Linked DNA regions of Homo sapiens: all the other regions are linked to region 1. Evidence: promoter capture Hi-C in 16 types of primary human blood cells and fetal thymus (Javierre and others, 2016). All regions are on one chromosome and are shown on one strand. The core of a region is centred on a gene start or on the middle of the fragment in contact, and the rest is flanking DNA. Distances in the headings are between cores, read along the strand shown.

The links. Contacts are between HindIII fragments. The CHiCAGO score rates a contact against its expected background, and 5 or more counts as called.
Region 2: the fragment with the promoter of KCTD18 here is called in contact with the fragment with the promoter of TRAK2 in region 1 in 7 of 17 cell types (monocytes, fetal thymus, non-activated CD4 T cells and 4 more); the score reaches 11.6 in monocytes.
Region 3: a contact is called between the fragment with the promoter of NOP58 here and the fragment with the promoter of TRAK2 in region 1, in 1 of 17 cell types (fetal thymus). The highest score is 7.0, in fetal thymus.
Region 4: a fragment that was not itself captured here is called in contact with the fragment with the promoter of TRAK2 in region 1 in 1 of 17 cell types (neutrophils); the score reaches 9.7 in neutrophils.

What each region holds. Positions count from the first base shown.
Region 1 is chr2:201,449,980-201,453,219 of GRCh38, reverse strand. It overlaps TRAK2 (trafficking kinesin protein 2), which reads left to right and starts at 1,762. Exons shown (of 16, transcript NM_015049.3): 1 at 1,762-1,870. It overlaps STRADB (STE20 related adaptor beta), which reads right to left and starts at 1,480. Exons shown (of 12, transcript NM_018571.6): 1 at 1,282-1,480. RefSeq lists a silencer at 910-1,589 and enhancers at 1,620-2,149, 1,553-2,407. The HindIII fragment of the contact is 1,586 bases long and covers 635-2,220 here.
Region 2 is chr2:200,508,352-200,511,591 of GRCh38, reverse strand. KCTD18 (potassium channel tetramerization domain containing 18) reads left to right here and starts at 1,524. Exons shown (of 7, transcript NM_152387.4): 1 at 1,524-1,964. RefSeq lists a silencer at 1,292-1,751. The HindIII fragment of the contact is 2,465 bases long and covers 1,058-3,240 here.
Region 3 is chr2:202,264,094-202,267,333 of GRCh38, reverse strand. It overlaps NOP58 (NOP58 ribonucleoprotein), which reads right to left and starts at 1,571. Exons shown (of 15, transcript NM_015934.5): 1 at 1,348-1,571. The coding sequence starts at 1,392. The HindIII fragment of the contact is 14,423 bases long and covers 432-3,240 here.
Region 4 is chr2:200,804,244-200,807,483 of GRCh38, reverse strand. The region is part of intron 1 of BZW1-AS1 (BZW1 antisense RNA 1); the gene reads left to right. Among named protein-coding and RNA genes, the nearest start is that of BZW1, 6.0 kb to the left of the region's middle. The HindIII fragment of the contact is 4,582 bases long and covers 1-3,240 here.

The sequences.
Region 1 (3,240 bases), core at 513-3,012:
CAGAAAAGCTCAGAAGAAACAGACACAATCTGGTAAGAATTGTTAGTAATAAAAGGGTTGTCCCTATGGGGTGGTTTAATCTCAGAGATTTTTGCCTTAGATACACCAGACTATTAAGAGATAATTTTACAAGACATTTTGAGGTCAAGGCAGCAGCTGCACCCAGCAAAGGGGTGGGGGTGGGGGATTTGCTGTTATTATAATTTTCTCCGGCATGCTCTTTCACGAGATATGAATATAAACCCTTTCTTAAAAAAAAGTCATATTTAAGAGACTTATATTTCGTATTCACAAGTACATCAGTGCAGTCCCTTACACTTGTATCCAAAACGCTAATTACGATAAAGCTTTATAAGTAATTTCAGTTTGTTCCATAATAGAATGGTTCATGTGAAGACTTTGATCTGAAAGATTAACACTTTCTGTAGAAACCAAAGGGCGCATCTTCTAGAACACGGGTTTTGAGTTAATTTAGGCATTCAACAGAGGCCACTGTTACAGGGAATGCAAAAATGACCCGATGTAACTCTTTGTTGAGCTTTAAAATTACTGTAATTTTCAAAGTGATCTTGGGAACCCATAAAATCTTAACAAAGATCATAGCGACGCACAGTTCAGGAGAATTTTCCAAGCTTAGTGACTCATGCGTTCAACAAATCTTTACTGAGCGCCTACTGGGTGCCAGGCACCGTGCTAAGCAGGCGCCGTGTTACACATCCGTATCAAGTTTTGGGGAAAAGGTACTTGACAAAGACCCAGCAGGGAAAAACACAGCGTTGAATTGAAAAACCGAAGACAAAACGACACTCGAGTATTTAATTTTGTAAAAGGTTCCTTCCTAGTCCTGCTATGGGGGACTTTGCAGCGAACTTGCAGAAGGCGGCAGATAGAGCTGGGGTCTGAGGGTGTCTTCGATATGGCAACTCCCCAAGCCCGAGAGCGCGGCCAAAGGTGAGGGGTGCGGGGAGAGGGCGCCCGGGCGGCCTGGGCCCCGCGCACCTGGCACGGCCGGCACGGCCAACCCGGCAGGCACCACTGGGCGGGCTGCGAACCCGCGGCCCGGGCCCCGCTGAGCCCGAGCTGCACTGGCGCAGTGGCTGCTCGCCACCTCGGGCCGCATTCTTGCCACGGCTCCCGCCAGCCGCCGGTGCTCGGGCTGGAGGTGGGCTAGCGCGTTCTGGCCTCTGGCTTCCCGGGCGTGCGCGGACCAAGGCTCACTCCCTCACACGTCCCCCACCGGCCCCGACACCTTCCCTTCCCGGGCCTGCCTCCCGTCTTTACCCTAGCGGCGACCACGGCCAGCGACTCTCTTCAGGCTGCCAGCGGTGCGGACAGGGGCGGGCGCCAGAGCCCTGCTCGCGGAGGGGCGAGGCGAGCGCTCTAGGCCCGCTCCCGGCGCGGGGCGCGGGAGGGCGGCGAGGCCGCGACCGGGGCCGTGGGCTTGGAACTCTGCACCAGTCCCAGGCTACCCGCTGGGAACGCATTCGCCCCACCCGCGCCGGGGTCGCGGCCCCGCCTCCCTCCCCGGGGCTGGGCAGCGAGAAGGCGGGGCCTTCGAGCTTGAGGCGGGGCGGGCAGGAAACTACAATTCCCAGCAGGTCTTGCGCTGGGGCCGTGGAGGCCGCTGGGAGAGTGGCTCTCCTTTGGCTTCCCCAATTGTGTGGGGGCTGCCATTGACCCGGTGTCGCCGCAGAACCGAGGTCGCCGAGTGATGATGTTGTGAAGTCGCCCGCCTGTCCCTGCCACGCCCGGGCGGTTGCTGGCAGTGGGAGCAGCGGCAGCAGCTTCGGCTGCTGCTTTCAGGCTGCCGCTGCATTAGGGGCTTCCTGAGGAAGCGCGGGCGGACGACAGAGGATGCCGAACCACTCCAGTGAGTAAGCTGTCCGCGCAGAACCCGAACTTGCCCTTGACAACTTCCCCGGAAAGCGGAGGGACCTCCTCGTCCCAAGGTCCTCCGGTACCCGGAGGTCACGCGCGGACGTCGGAGCCGGAGGCTGGGTGCTGGAGGGCTGGGTCCGGGTCCCGCGGTGAGGCGTGGGTTGTTTCCTAAGTGTGGGTGCAAAGTAATGGGCGCTAGGCGCTGGCGTCGGTATTCAGCCCAGCTGCACATCTGAGGCTTGGCAGCTTCTCATAGCGCCTTATCCTCTGCCATACAGCATCCATCTGGAGCCCTGTCTTTTAGGATGAGTGGCTTTAGGGTCGGGCATTAAACCTTAAGCTTCAGTCGCCATCTGTGATGTAAGTGGGAGGAGAGGGTATTGGAAAGAGCTCTTTCTGGGTCAAATAGAGTTGGGCTTTTCTTGCAATTGATTTTGAGCCAGATGCCACATATCTTGAAAAAGAAAAACGGCTGACTTTAGTTTGAAGCGTAAATAATAGATATTCGCACATGTCCTTTTTAGTAGCAGCCCAAAAATTGAATTTCAACTTAAAAAAAAATCTGCGTCATAATAATAGGGATGTTACTTGCTCTTGCTCATGCACCTTTTGCTTAGACCTGCTGTTTCTACGTCAGAAAAAAAAAAAAAAAAGGTAACTTCACAGGATATTCATCAAGTTGATGGAATGGACCATAGGAACAAAAGGAACACTTTCAGTTCTTGGTCTCCGTAAATCTTCCCGACCTTTAGATCTTTGCTGTTGACTTGGAAGTCTGAGGTACAGTAGTCTCCAAATAGCAGGTTAATGGTGGTGACATGACACTTAAAAACAAATTGTGAAGGACATTTGGAGGTGAGAAAGGTCAGGGATGAAGACATTTTATCATCCTAGCAGTTATTCCAACTTTCTTTTCTTTTTTTTTTTTAAGACAGAGTCTCGCTCTGTCGCCAGGCTGGAGTGCAGTGGGGTGATCTCGGCTCACTGCAACCTCCGCCTCCCGGATTCAAGCGATTCTCCTGCCTCAGCCTGCAGAGTAGCTGGGACTACAGGCGCGCACCACCACGCCCAGCTAATTTTTGTGTTTTTAGTAGAGATGGGGTTTCACCATGTTGGCCAGGATGGTCTCGATCTCTTGACCTCATGATCCACCCGCTTTGGCCTCCCAAAGTGCTGGGATTACAGACGTGAGCCGCCACACCCAGCTCCAGTTTTCTATTTTTAAAATTAAGTAATGTCCAGCAAGTCTCAGACATTTAGCAAGCACATACCATGTGAAAGACAGTGTTTTGTTATCTTACACACTTATTCATATGATGGAAGAGGTTTGTTAGAAAGAACCAACATTTGGCCGGGCGCTGT
Region 2 (3,240 bases), core at 275-2,774, 940 kb after region 1:
TCATCTTCCCCTTTGTCCTGATGCCCACCAAGGCTCAGACATACTAGTGGCCTTTCTCTTCCTACAAATTGCTGAGTCCTTTCCTGCCTGAGGGGCTTCCGACTTGCTCTCCCTTCTTCCTAAAATACCCTTCCTCCATCTCTGCAGAAGGTGGACTCATTCTGACTCCTAGCCCTCAACTTAAATGTCCACTCATTTCCTCGCACCTAGTTATCACTCTCTGTCACCACTTTGCTTAGTGTCTGTTTCTCCCACTTGAACAAGGGCAGGCAAACTATGGCCCATGGACCACCATTTGTTTTTGTCTGGCCCATGATCTAAGAATGGCTTGTACATATTTAAGTGTTTGAAAAAGCTGCATTTTTAAAAGAATATTTTTTGACACATGAAAATTATGTGAAATTGGAATTTCAGTGTCCATAAAGTTGGAACTAGCAATGCTCATTTGTTCAGGTTTTGCCTATGCCTTCTTTTAGACTACAACTGCTGAGTTGAGTAGTTGTGCATGGCCCACAAAGCCTAAAATATTTACAGAACAAGTTTTCTGCATGTTGTACTGGAAAGTAAGGTTGAACGCCCATTATTTGTCTCTTCCAGTCCTTTACTCTCAGTGCTTGCTCCATAGCTAGTGCTTAATAATTACAGGTTGAACAAACCTTCCCTCTCTCCTAAGACTGTTAATATCTAAGGGGATAGGTTGACTTACCTCTCTTTGGCTTATTCTCTTCTAAGAGCCAGTCAGGGAAATTTGGAACCAAATATTTTTGATTTTGGGGAAGCACCTTGAAAACAGGACTGTTATATTTCTCTTGAAATATCTAGCACAGTACCTTGCACAAGGTAAGATGGTGCTAGAAACTGGAAGAACTGTTTTAGGGTTATCGTTAACAGGAAATTAAGTAGTGCATGCAAAGCACTTAGCACAGTGTCAGGTGTACAAAAGTGTTGAATAAATGTTTGCTCTCGCCTCAATTTTCCTTGCTATAATGGGAAATAAATATCACCCTTTATATCACTGTCACACAGACTAAACAAGAATGCTGTGTGTGAAAAAGCTTTGTAAGCTGCAGACACTATCCAGATAGACTTATCCAAGTGCAATATATTAACACACGTTGGCACTGAGCAGCCCTGTTTGGAGGGATGGGCACTGACCTGGGGGTGAGAACACTTAACATCCTAATTCTTGCCACTTATTAAGTGACCTTGGACAATCGCAACTTCTGCGGCTGTTTCTTCTCTTCACCTGTAAAACCAGCCTCTGAACACACAAGACCGTCCCTTGGGGTTCAGCCCTGGCCTTCTCTACCGTGTGTTTCCCTTACCTCCGGGATGGAAGACCCACCCGACTCCGAGGCGGCCCACTGGGGCGAGACGAATCTGGGGGCGGGGCGTGGCGTGGCGTGGCGTGCCCGGGACGTGGCCTCCCTCCCTCCCTGAGCCGCTGCCTCAGAGCCGGGCCGCACGGGGGCGCCGCTGGGGCCGCTCTGCTCCCGAGTTGCCGAGCAGCTGAGAAGGCGTTCACTTCCGCGTCCGCCCCGCGGCGTCCGGCGGCCGCGCCGAGGGTCTGGCGGGCCGCAGGTCAGTCTGGGAAGCTGCCGACCCGCCCCACCCCCCCGGTGCGGAAGAGCCGGGCGCGGGATGGGCCGCGGGCCCGGAAGGCGGCGGGGCGCCCTGAGGAAGGGCACGGGCCGCGCTGGTAACGCGCGCGCCCCGGGCTGCAGGCTCGGGCTTCGGGCCGATTTGGGGTCTCCAGGCCGCGGAAGACCGTGGCGGGGCTTTCTGGCTCCCCAGCTCCTCCCGGCTCTTCCCGCTTCGGAAGAGGAGTGTGAGCCCCTTGAGCGATGTTTTTCAAAGTGGGGTTCGCGGGCAGATCCCGACCCCTCCTCAGACTTTCTGAGGAACTGTGTGCTGTGGCCGGAGTGTCTTCGTTTTCCCAAGCGTCCCTGATGGTTTTGATGCAGGTGATCATAGGAATGCACTCTGGGGGACATTGTCCCCGAGGGCTGGACACTTTCCACATAGCAGGGAGCCTAACTGGGTGCTTTTGAGGATGGGGCCTGCGGAGTGCCCCCCTGGTGTGGCCTTGGAATGATGATGTTCCTATCCTTAGGAGAGACTGCCTGGGGTTGGGGTAGGAGGAGTAGCTCTTAAATCCTCGGGATCGGGGTGCTGCTGTGTTATCGTAGCCAAGTCTTGAGATGGACAGATGCTTAGAGAGTGAAAGGGCTGGGTCAGGATCCATAGGGGTGAAACAGTGCTGGAGGAGGCGGTGTGGGGTGAAGCAGGAAGAACTTGGGGTTCGTCCTGCCGTTCTGGATTGGGGCTGGCTCCACAACCTACTAGCAGTCAGTCCTTGTGTGGCCCCTGTACACATCACTCTTTTTTTTTACCCCAATGGCCTCATCTGTCAACAGGGACAGTAATTCCCATCCAATAGAGTTTTTGTGTGAATTAGGTAAAGTGTGTCAAGTGTCTCTTACAATGGCTGGCACATAATAAGCATTCAGTAAATGGGAGTTATTAAGAGTGACACAGGCCCTGGCTTCCTTGGCCTACAGACCAAAAAGTAGGGATTAAACAAGTGGGGTAAAAAGTGGACAGACACACAGTATATTTGTAGAATTGTGCAAGGATTCTAACTTGGGGGGCAGAAGGATACGTGGGACGGTCATGCAAGAAATTAGGTTTGCTGAAGGCCTTGAAGAATAGATAGGATTCCAGGGAGCCAGTAATGAGGCAGAGGGAACAAGTTCCATCCCATGCCTCAGAGGTGGCTCTCACACATGGATCTTTGGAGTGCTGCTCCCAGGACTTCTAGGCAGTGCGAGATGTCACATCCATAAGTGGTTTTGGAAGGCTGGACCTTTGGCCCATAATGGTTTCTGTTGCTGACCGTATTCTACACACATGGTCTTCCTCAGATTTTAATGGTCTCCTTCCATTTTATTGGAGACTAGCTGGCATCTACAAAACGATCTTAGTTGTTCACTGAGTAAAAGTGAATTGACATGGATGTAGTTGAGCCTTTTGGCAGCCATTTTCAACTTGCTATGAAATGTGTGGATACTGCAGATTCTCAATAATTGGGAGTACCTTTTTCATCACAGTATTGTTTTAGGTGGGAAAACACCACAGTGTCACTTGTGGTTCTGTGATCTCCAGAATGGATTAAAAAAATCCAACCCTTAAACCTTCCCTGGGCCTGGTGCAGTGGCTCACGCCTGTAATCTCAGCACT
Region 3 (3,240 bases), core at 322-2,821, 810 kb before region 1:
GAGAACTCTGCACCCATCCAGACTTTCTTGCATCCACACCACAAATGGTTTTTTGGTTCATAGCTAAAATTGTATTACATTTATTTTTACCTAGCGTTTTTGCTTTCTACCAACATATATATATGTAGAATATACATAAAAACTTTATTTTTCATTGCTATATTCACAGACCTCAGAAGAGTTGCACCGCACAAGAAAAGGCACTCAATCTCACTCATTCTTCCTAACATCTCAACAGCATCTTGCGATACGAATGTCTTACCATTCAACCATTTCAGTGCTGACGAACTTGTCAAACTTTCCCCACGAAAACAACCAAACCTCAAACTGACATCACCAGCCCAGATGTTTTCCCCTAAGCTTCAAATCTGAAATACTGAACTGCCCGATCTACACAACTGCATTATCAGGTCTAATAGACAACGCAAGCTTCGCACAGCCCAAACCGGAAATCTTTAGTCCTTCCCCAAGAAACTTTCTTAACATCTTATTTAAACCAAAACCCCACATTCAATCTATTAGCCAGTCCTTCCTGTTCTACCTTCACAATTTCTATCGATATTTGTTTCTCTCCATACCAGGCAATTTCATCTTGTCCAAATGAATGCAAAAGTATTCTTGCTGCCGTTCTTATCTCCTCGAGTCTAATCTCCACACAGCAGAGTAACCGTATTAAGACAAATTAGCAGGTCATTCCTCTGCTTAAATCCTTTCGATTGGCCGAGCACGGTGGCTCACGCCTGTAATCCCAGCACTTTGGGAGGCCGAGGCAGGTGGATCGCTTGAGGTCAGGAGTTCAAGACCAGCCTGGCCAACATGGTGAAACCCCGTCTCTACTAAAAGCAAACAAACAAACAAAAACAACTAGCCAGGCGTGGTGGTGGATGGAGGCCTGTAATCCCAGCTACTCGGGAGGCCAAGGCAGGAGAATCGCTTGAACCCGGGAGACGGAGGTTGCAGTGAGCCAAGATTGCGCCACTGCACTCCAGCATGGGCAACAAGAGCGAAACTCCATCTCAAAAAAAAAAAAAATCTTTCGATCATTCCTCAAAACATCTAGAATAAAGTCCGAATTCCCTATAATCTGTTAAATTCTAACACGCCTCCTGCCCACCCCTTCAACGGGAGGAAATAAAATCCTCTAATGCAGAACGGGTCTCCCCAAACGGCGGGGCCACGTGTTACACGTAACATGGCTCTCAGGTGTAAAGGCCTTCTCCCTCCTCCCAGAGCCCGGGCTATAACAGGCACCCACGCTACTCTGAGTAGTTCCGTGCTTAAGTCTTTCCCTCTCCTCGTCTGTCCAGCATCCGCCTTCCCCCTTTAACGGCTCGCTCTCCCACCTACCTTAAAGATGGCGTAACCCACAGACGTTTCAAACAGCACCAACATGGTGAGGCCGGGTCAGGGCGCCGCACGGCCTGCCAGAAGCTGTAGAGTCAGTTCAAAAACACCGACTACGCGGCCTCAAAAGGCCTCCTAGGCCGCGGCGGGCAAAGCACAAATGCGCTCGCCGTCCCGCAAAGAATCAGAACACGCTGCCTAAACCCTCCACGCTGTACTGGAACTAGGACGCACGAACGCGCTACTCCTTCTCTGAGGATTCTGGGATAGCAACGTCACTTCCGACAGAAGACTGCCGCAGAGATTGCCGTCACTTCCAGAATGTTCCCGCCACAGCGGGCTGGGGCGGGCCGAGAAAGTTTGTATCGCGGGATCTAGGGCCTGAACGGAGCCTTTGCGCCTTTTTTTCTTTTTTCTTTTTTTCTTTTTTGGAGACGGAGTCTCGCTCTGTAACCCAGGCTGGAGTGCAGTGGTGTGATCTCGGCTTACTGCAACCTCCGCCTCCCGGGTTCAAGAAATTCTCCTAGCCGGGCGCAGTGGCTCACGCCTGTAATCCCAGCACTTTGGGAGGCCGAGGCGGGCGGATCACAAGGTCAGGAGATCGATCGAGACCATCCTGGCTAACACGGTGAAACTCCGTCTCTACTAAAAATACAAAAAATTAGCCGGGTGTGGTTGCAGGCGCCTGTAGTCCCAGCTACTCGGGAGGCTGAGGCAGGAGAATGGCCTGAACCCAGGGGGCGGAGCTTGCAGTGAACCAAGATCCTGCCACTGCACTCCAGCCTGGGCGACAGAGCGAGACTCCGTCTCAAAAAAAAAAAAAAAAAAAGAAATTCTCCTGCCTCAGCCTCCCCAGTAGCTGGGACTAGAGGCACACACCACCACGCCCAGCTAATTTTTGTATTTTTAGTAGAGATGGGGTTTCAGCATGTTGGCCAGGATAGTCTCGATCTCTTGACCTCGTGATACGCCCGCCTCGGCCTCCCAAAGTGCTGGGATTACAGGCGTGACCCACTAGGCCCGGCCTTTTTTTTTTTTTTTTTTTTTTTTTTTTTTTTTTTTGAGACAGTCTGGCTGTTGCCCAAGCTGGAGTGCAGTGGCACTATCACGGCTCACTGCAACCTCCAACTCCCAGGCTCAAGCGATCCTCCCACTTCACCCTCCGGAGCAGCTGGGACTACAGGCCTGTGCCACCACACCCAGCTAATTTTTTGTAGAGACAGGGTTTCACGATGTTGCCCAGGCTGGTCTCGGACTCTTGACCTCAAGGGATCCTCCCACCTCGGCCTCCCAAAGTGCTGGGATTACAGGCGTGAGCCACCGCGCCCCGCCACCGCTAGAGATTTAAAGGGGAAAAACTTCACGATATTATTTTGTTAACCCTCTATGAATTATATGTTCACTTTGAGAGAAACGAGGAGCTGTTTCGGTGCCAGTCTGCCTCAGGCATCTAGAATTTGAAATGCCAGCTAGTGCCATTAGACTTTATCCCCTTTCAAGCCCTGCCTTGAGGCGAAGGCCTCAGAATGACACCATTACTGTCACTATATTTGTGAGCATTCCTGGCCGTTCCCTTCTGTCTGGCCAAATGAATTATTAGCACAGTTTTCTTTCAATAAGCCTCTCCTATTTTTGCTGCATTTGTTAAAATGACCCCAGGGTATGAATTTAGAATGTCTTTTTTTTTTTCTTTTTCTTCTTTGTTTTTTTTGAGACGGAGTTTCACTCTTGTTGCCTAGGCTGGAGTGCAGTGGTATGATCTCTGCTTACTGCAACCTCTGCCTCCCGGGTTCAAGCAATTCTCCTGCCTCAGCCTCCCGAGTAGCTGGGATTACAGGCATGTACCACCACGCCTGGCTAATTTTGTATTTTTAGTAGAGATGGGGTTCCTCCATG
Region 4 (3,240 bases), core at 491-2,990, 650 kb after region 1:
AGGAGAATGGTGTGAACCCGGGAGGCAGAGCTTGCAGTGAGCCGAGATCCCGCCACTGCACTCCAGTCTGGGCGACAGAGTGAGACTCCGTCTCAAAAAAAAAAAAAAAGAAATGTTACTAAGGACGCCAGATCCAAACATCTCTGTGTTGGAAAATTATCTCCAATGCATAACGGTTTCCTTGGCATATTTAGATGGCCATCTTTCTTTGATGTCTTTTTTAAAACCTACATTTCATTTTTTGGGAGCCTCAGTGCGATGGAATTTTTTTTTTTTTTTTTTTGAGACGGAGTCTCTCTCTGTTGCCCAGGCTGGAGTGCAGTGGTGCGATCTTCACTCACTGCAACCTCCGCCTCCCGGGTGCAAGCGATTCTCCTGCCTCAGCCTCCTGAGTAGCTGGGATTACAGGTGCGTGCCACCACCCCTGGCTAATTTTTGTATTTTTAGTAGAGACGGGGTTTCACCATGTTGGCCAGGCTGGTCTCAAACTCCTGACTTCAAGTGATCCGCCGGCCTCAGCCTCCCAAAGTGCTGGGATTACAGGTGTGAGCTGCCGCGCCCAGCTGATGGAAAGTTTTTATTTAAGATGAAAAAGCAACTAAACTAAATAGAACTTAATCACTGCCTTATTGCTATTATTAGTAGTACTACTGCTATTACTTGGTATGTACTACTATTAGTAGTAATAGAGTGGTCACAGTAGACCTTAAATTTATAGAGGATGTTACTGTTTACAAAATATTTTCACATGCATTTTATAATTCTTCACAGAAACTTTGTGAGAAAGTAAGGCTGCCTTGCTTTCAAAGCAAGCTAACTATAGATAGAATTGATGATTATTAGTCTTCCAGAACAAGGCCATGGACTACCATTAAGTAAACTTAATGTCAATTTATCTGATAAGAAAAAGTGGAACCTTTTTTCTAATGATACATTTCAGGTCCTACTCTTAAAAAGCAGTCTTGGAAGATTTCCCAGATCTTTCTGGGATAAAATTAGTTTTCTTTAAAAAAGCAGTTTCATTTTCCAGAACTTAACCAGTATAGAAGGCTTTAGCATCAGAGAACTTTATACAATAAGGCTTGCCCAGCACAGAGATCCTTAGCACTAGGTGACTAGTTATAGTAAGTGCTGAAATGAAATTCTCTGTTAGTTCTCTATACCTGTGCTTTGAATTCAACTCACATTTTTCAATACCTAAATGCCACGAAGAACTTTCAGAACCTAAGCGTGTTAGGCCGTTCTTGTGTTTCTATAAAGAAATACCTGAGGCTGGTGCGGTGGCTCAGGCCTGTAATCCCAGCACTTCGGGAGGCAAAGGCAGGCGGATCATGAGGTCAGGAGATGGAGACCATCCTGGCTAACACGGTGAAACCCTGTCTCTATTGAAAATACAAAAAATTAGCCAGGCGTGGTGACACGCACCTATATTTCCAGCTACTGGGGAGGCTGAGGCAGAAGAATCGCTTGAATCCAGGAGGTAGAGGTTGCAGTGAGCTGAGATCACGCCACTGCACTCCAGCCTGGGCAACAGAGTGAGACTCTGTTTCAGAAAAAAAAAAGAAGAAGAAGAAGAAATACCTGAGGCTGCGTAATTTATAAAGAAAAGAGGTTTAATTGGCTTATGGTTCTGCAGGCTGTGCCAGTGTGGCACGAGCATTTGCTTTCAGGTGAGGGCTTTGGGAAATTTACAATCATGGCAGAAAGTGAAGTGGGAGCAGGGACATCACATAGTGAGAGTGGGAGCAAGTGTGAGTGAGGTGGGAGGTGCCACACACTTTTAAACAACCAGATCTCACGGGAATTCAGAGTGAGAACTTACTTATTACCAAAGTGTTGGTGCTAAAGCACTCATGAGGGATCCGCCTCCACGATCCAATCACCTCCCACCAACATTGGGAAATACATTCAACATGAGATTTGGGAGGCGAGAAACATCCAAACCGTATCACCAGGTAAAAAGGGCTATAAAATACCATTAAGAACATTGGGGTTTCATGACTTCAGAAATTTTAAGAATTTCTTGCCTAGGAAGAACAATGTACAAGCAACAGATTTAATTGCCTTTGAGAAACGCTTTTGGTGAGAACTCTTTAGGAAGGACTCTGCTTTTCCTTATGTGCCTGGTGTGCTGTAATGGAGGCCCAAAGATAGTCATGGTGCTTGTGACATGCACTGTCCAGTGAGGGACATGGTACAATACCACCACGAATGTATCATACAAGGTGCTATTAGAATATGGAAAAGGGAGTGACCAACTCCACAGGGCTGAGAAGGAAGGGGTTCCCAAAAGATTTGGAATAGGAAGCATTTGAGGTAGGTCTTGGCAGAAGAGAAGAGGTTGGTCAGATGGGGAAGAGGGAGGTAGGAGCAGCATGTGGAGCAGCCTGAAATGTAGCTGTCACATTCTAGAGCAGGGAGCAGCTTGCTGTGTGTGGTGTAGGGTGTATGTGTATCTGTGTATGTGTATGTTGGGACAGGGATGGCAAAGATGAAGAGGGGGTTAGCTTGAGAAGGGCTAAGAGCCCATCCTAAGGAGTTTGGTCTTCACCTATGTTCTGCTTTCTATGTGGTAATTCACTTTAAAATGCTTAAGAAATTTAGTGTAAACTATATGATATATTTAAACATAAGGTAACTTTTTTCTACACCCTAGGTAGCATCAACTTGCACTCTAGGTGTAGTTAATTAGCATTTGATGAATCCAAATCATGAATCCACACTTCAAAATTGGTTACCTACACATTTCAACTAATTTTCCAAGAGTCCATTTTAAGGTTTTGTTCCTTGGTATAGTGGATGTTAGAAATAAGATACGTGGTTGGTTAGAGACTTTACACTTGCTCTATGAACCTCATCCGAGGAAGGTGGAGGAATCCAGCAAGCGATGCTGGCAGCAGCCTTCAGGTGTGGATTGCTATTGGTTCTCAGTACTCTCCTCCCAGAGGGCTAGATGATTCTGCCGTCAGTCTGTTGTGTCCATTCAGAGTGAATCTGTCATGTGAGATGTTTGACTTATCTCTAACTTTTAGTGGGGGCTGTGGATATTTATGAAGAGGACCTGCCAATTGCTGTGTTCATCAATTGCCTAATTGCCTGAGATCACTGTGTGACAATCTGGTCAGTAGTGGAGACCACTAGAGATTATCTATATGATACCAGCAGACTGTCAATATTATAGAAAAATTACTCTGGGGAAGGGAAGCATTGGTGAGCTGGAGGATAAGACCCTGTTGGATT